Regions from separate parts of the Homo sapiens genome. Here region 2 is linked to region 1. The links are contacts of gene promoters, found by promoter capture Hi-C in human tissues and cell types (Jung and others, 2019). All regions are on one chromosome and are shown on one strand. Each heading gives the region's core, a stretch centred on a gene start or on the middle of the fragment in contact. The rest is flanking DNA. Distances are from core to core; before and after follow the strand shown.

What was found. Contacts are between HindIII fragments. The study calls those that stand out against the background at their distance.
Region 2: a fragment that was not itself captured here is called in contact with the fragment with the promoter of NEK2 in region 1 in 1 of the 25 tissues and cell types used here (stomach).

Annotation. Positions count from the first base shown.
Region 1 is chr1:211,674,319-211,676,991 of GRCh38, reverse strand. It overlaps NEK2 (NIMA related kinase 2), which reads left to right and starts at 1,371. Exons shown (of 8, transcript NM_002497.4): 1 at 1,371-1,608; 2 at 2,479-2,673. The coding sequence starts at 1,513. NEK2-DT (NEK2 divergent transcript) reads right to left here and starts at 1,230. Exons shown (of 4, transcript NR_148994.1): 1 at 1,126-1,230. RefSeq lists enhancers at 1,091-1,385, 1,408-1,667. The HindIII fragment of the contact is 6,262 bases long and covers 1-2,673 here.
Region 2 is chr1:212,249,460-212,252,132 of GRCh38, reverse strand. The region is part of intron 1 of LINC02608 (long intergenic non-protein coding RNA 2608); the gene reads left to right. Among named protein-coding and RNA genes, the nearest start is that of LINC02608, 34 kb to the left of the region's middle. The HindIII fragment of the contact is 4,692 bases long and covers 1-2,673 here.

The DNA of each region.
Region 1 (2,673 bases), core at 122-2,621:
CCTAAATTGGTCCTATTCCCCTGAGGTAAGACAGTGCCCTTGAATGTTAATTTAAAAATTCTCCTGGTTGGCAATTCCAATTATCTTATGTTATATTCAGGGCATGTAATAAGTCCCTTATTTTTACATAAAGAGCTTTTAAATTCTTATTAATAGAAAATCAGGTGTCTTTTAATCCTTTGCTGAACAGATATTTAAAGAAAACTGGCCTGTTCATGCATTTCCAAATTATTAGCTTTCTGGTAATTTACATATTCCTCTAACAAGCCCTGGATGGAGGCCTCTAAGTCCTCCTTCCCTGGTAAACATGGGGCTGTTCATTTGGCTGGGTAAGCTGAGAACGTTGGTGTGTGGGTGCGTAAAAGAGAATCTGTGTTCAATGAAGTATTGTCGATAGGGTTAATTGTGTATTTGGCACACATAAACGGGACAAGACGTGTAAAGTACTTGGTAGGAGAGCGACAGTATTTCTCCTTTTTTTTTTTTTTTTGGAGACTGGGTGTCACTCTGTCGCCCAGGCTGGAGTGCAGTGGCGCACGGCTCACTGTAACCTCTGCCTCCCAGGTTCAAGCAATTCCTCATGCCTCAGCCTCCCAAGAAGCTGGGATTACAGGCCTGCAACCCCATGCTCTGTTACTTTTTTTTTTTTTTTTTTCATTTTTAGTAGAGACGGGGTTTCGCCATGTTGGCCAGGCTGGTCTTGAACTCTTGGCCTCGAGCAATCCGCCCGCCTCGGCCTCCCAAAGTGCTAGGATTATAGGCGTGAGCCACAGCGCCCGGCCTAATTTTCGTATTTTCAGTAGAGACGAGGTTTGCCCTGTTGCCCAGGCTGGTCTGAACTCCTGGGCTCAAGCGACCCACCCACCTCGGCTTCCCAAAGTGCTAGGGTTACGGGCGAGCGTGAGTCACCGCGCCCACCCGGGAGTCTGTATTTCTAATTTGTATTCAGCTCTCAGCATATCCTCAACGTGACCCCACCCAGGTTCAGGGTACTGGAACCTGAGCGAGGAATGCGTGTGCCGGGGAGAGTAGGTAGTGTGAGGGGCCAGAGTGCAAAGGTCAGAAGGCATCTGGTGGAAGCGGTGTGCAAAGAAGCCTGAGGGGAGGACCTTAGATCTCGGTTACCTTGGCGATCTCTATCAGAGGGTTAGAGTTGCCGAGAGGCGCCAGCTGCCGCTTCCTCTCTCCCGCCCTCCGTTTGGCTTAGCTCGCCGGGTTCTCCCACAGGTTAAAAGCAGACGCCGACGCGGTTGCCTAGTGACACTTTTCCCAAAATGCCTAGGGTATTGTTGTGTTCTTCTTAGCCAATGAGAGAGGCGAAGCGGCCCACCGCCTGCCAATAGACTGCGAGATCAGGGCCCGCGACGGTTAAACGGGGCCCAAGGCAGGGGTGGCGGGTCAGTGCTGCTCGGGGGCTTCTCCATCCAGGTCCCTGGAGTTCCTGGTCCCTGGAGCTCCGCACTTGGCGGCGCAACCTGCGTGAGGCAGCGCGACTCTGGCGACTGGCCGGCCATGCCTTCCCGGGCTGAGGACTATGAAGTGTTGTACACCATTGGCACAGGCTCCTACGGCCGCTGCCAGAAGATCCGGAGGAAGAGTGATGGCAAGGTGAGCGTGGGACCTACCCTGCGCCTGCCCCTGCTTAGGTTTCGTCGCCTCGGGGCGAGCGCCCTGCGCCACCGAAGGGAACCGACAGGGCTGAGGAAATGGGTGCCCGGAAGACTAAACCGTCTTTCCTGGGTCTGCATCTGACAGCCTGTCCTGGGTGGCTTAAAGGATGGGAGACCGCTTCTTTTGATATATGTATTTCCATCTTTTCCCGTTTCTCTCCCCATTTCTCTCTTTCTCCTGCTTTGGCTTGCTAAGGACCTTCCATTGGTGACAGGTAACTAATTCCTGAGCTGTTTTTAGAGCTCTAAGAGTGGCCCTCTCAGGCACAAGAAAGGGGCAGGACTACCAGAACCCGAAGCTTTGTATCTGCAGTCAGACTCCCTCAAAATATCCATTATTAGGATTATTGGATTCATATTTCCCAATGTATATAGGTAGAACTTTTACAGAAAGTAACATTGGACAGGAAACTGCCTGGCTGCTGATGGAGGGATCTTTACCAAGGTGTCTCATCCTGGGAAAACACGACTGGGGTGGAATGGGGCAGGGACTTTGACCACCTTCACCCCAATTTTGACTATAGTACCTTTTAGCCAACTTCCCACTAACCAACTGAGGGTAGGGGTTGGGGGAGTCCTCATGTGCCTCATTCCCGTTTGTCTCCCCACAACATACATTTACTGCTTAGAACTGGAGGAAGATTATGGAAGTAAACTCACAGCTCCTTAAGTTCATTGAACTAAATTAGATAATGACCTTGATTGTAGGATATAATTAAAAGGGAGGTAATTTGTTAAATCTTGGAACTTTCATTCTTTGTTTTTGAGCATAATGAGTTCATTCATACCTTGGAAATTCTTATTTCAGATATTAGTTTGGAAAGAACTTGACTATGGCTCCATGACAGAAGCTGAGAAACAGATGCTTGTTTCTGAAGTGAATTTGCTTCGTGAACTGAAACATCCAAACATCGTTCGTTACTATGATCGGATTATTGACCGGACCAATACAACACTGTACATTGTAATGGAATATTGTGAAGGAGGGGATCTGGCTAGTGTA
Region 2 (2,673 bases), core at 65-2,564, 580 kb before region 1:
AGCCTTTCCCAGGCTAGATACTGACAGCTTTGAGCAAGGGTCTCAGGGTATAAAGGGTATGCTTGCTCCTTTGCCTCCTACAGTTATTCATGCCATCCCTGCACAGGACTACCGCAGGGCAAGATGTGACTGAGGCTTTTTGCCACTGCTTCTGCTCCAGTATCTGCCATCTAGATATGGAATGAAAAGATGGCCTTTGGAAGCAGTGGGCAAAATGAAAAAAACTTTAAAGTCTTTTAAGAGCATCCTATTAAATTGAATCAAAGTGACTAAGTAAAAAAATTTTGTTATTTTGCTCAATGCTCCCAACTAGACTTTTTTTCTATCCCAGGCTTATTTCCTTTCCTGTGGATAATAGTTGTTTCTTAGTTTTCCTTATAATTCCTGCTATTCTTTCTATCCCCTACCTTATTCCTGGGGGCAGATTCCTTTTCCTTCCATCCACCCCATATATTTGGACATTTCCCATGTTCTAAACTCAACCTTCATCTATTCTCACTAATAGACTCTCTTTGATAAACATCTACTTTTTTGGTTTCTTTTGAGACAGAGTTTCACTTCTGTTGCCCAGGCTGGAGCGCAATGGTACAATCTTGGCTCACCACAACCTCTGCCTCCCAGGTTCAAGCGATTCTTCTGCCTCAGCCTCCCGAGTAGCTTGGATTACAGGCATGCACCACCATGCTCAGCTAATTTTGTATTTTTAGTGGAGACGGGGTTTCTCCATGTTGGTCAGGCTGGTCTTGAACTCCCAACCTCAGGTGATCCCCTCAGCCTCCCAAAGTGCTGGGATTACAGGCATGAGCCACTACGCCCAGCCCATTATCTACTTTTATAGCTTCAACTTTCCACTCATATGTTCATGGCTCCCCAAAAAAATACCTCCAGCCCAGACCTCTTTCTTGAGCTCAGACCATCATGCCAACTTCCTGCTGGATGTCTCCACCCGATGACCCACAGGTACCTCCAACTCAGTACATCTAATCCAACTTATTTTCTCCATCCCAATACTTACTTCTTATCCCCTTGCTTTATATCCTATCCCTGTTTCTCCAAACTCAGTGATGGCATCAACATCTCTCGAGTTGTTCAAGCTTGAAATCATGGAGTTCTCTTCAATTATTCTCTTTTCCTCACCTACTCTCTTGAAATATCTGGATAATGCATAATCTTCTTGCAATCTCCCCTGCCTCTGACTTAGTTCCAATCCTTATCATCTCTTTCCTGAGTCACTGCAGTGTATTAATGATAGCTGCTATGTATTGAATGCTTACTCTGTGTCAGAAACAGTGCTCAAATCCTTATATACTATACTAACTACATCTGTTTTCTGCTGCTATAAAAGGATACCACAGGCTGGGTAGTTAATAAAGAAAAGAAATTTATTTGGTTCATGGTTCTGGAGGCTGGGAAGAGCAAGAGCATGGCACCAGCATCCAGCGAGGGCCTTGTGTTGCATTATCCCACGGCAGAAGGGCAAGAGAGTCTGTGAGACAAAGAGAAAGATGGGGCCTGAATTTATCCTTTTATCAGGAGCCTATTCCTGTGACAAATAGACCACTCCCATGGTAACAGCATTAATCTATTTATGAAGGTGGAGCCATAACTTAATCACCTTTTAATCACCTCTTAATCACCTATCTCTATGAGACCATCCTGAGCAACGTAGCAAGACCCTGTCTCTGCAAAAAAGAAATGTGAAAATTAGCCAGGTATGGTGATGTGCATCTGTGGTCCCAGTCTCAGTTGGGAGGCTGAGATGGGAGGATTGCTTGAACCTGGGAGGTCAAGGCTGCAATGAGCCATGACTACACCATTGCACTCCAGCCTGGTCAACGGAGTGAGTCCCCCATCTCAAATAAATAAAAAATAAAGGTTTTACCTCTTAAACTGTTTAATTGCAATTAAACAGATATTTTTGCCAACAGCAATCAAATTTGTTTTCAAGGGGTTATTCAAACCATACATATACCTTATATTTTTCCTTTTTGTTTGACTGTTTTATAATAAATATTATATCATAATTACTAATCAATGGGGTAACTATTATCATCCCCATTTTATAGGTGAGAAAACCAAAGGCTTAAAAATACTAAGTAACTGGCTGGGCGCAGTAGCTCGTGCCTGTAATCCCAGCCCTTTGGGAGGCCAAGGTGGGTGGATCACCTGAGGTCAGGAGTTCGAGACCAGCCTGGCCAACATGATGAAACCCCATCTCTACTTAAAAAATATAAAAATTAGCTGGGCGTGGTGGTGCACACCTGTAATCCCAGCTACTCAGGAGGCCGAGGCAGGAGAATCGCTTGAACCCGGGATGCGGAGGTTGCAGTGAGCCGAGATCACGCTATTGCACTCCAGCCTGGACAAGAGCAAGACTTTGTCTGAAAACAACAATGACAACAACAACTAAGCTTGCCCAAGATCTCCTGCTTTCTGGTAAGTTGTGGAGACAAGAGCCTGTGTTCTTAAACACTGCCATGTAGTGATGTGGTCCCAACGTTGGTGGCACTCTAGAATCACCTGGGGAGCTTTTAAAGACTACCATTTTCCCAGCCTCAACCCAGACTAACTGAATCAAAATCTCTGAGGGTTTGGCCTGCACCTGAGTATTTTTTTAAAACTTCTTTAGGTGATTGTCATAGGCAGTCAATACTGAGAACCCTTGCATTACTG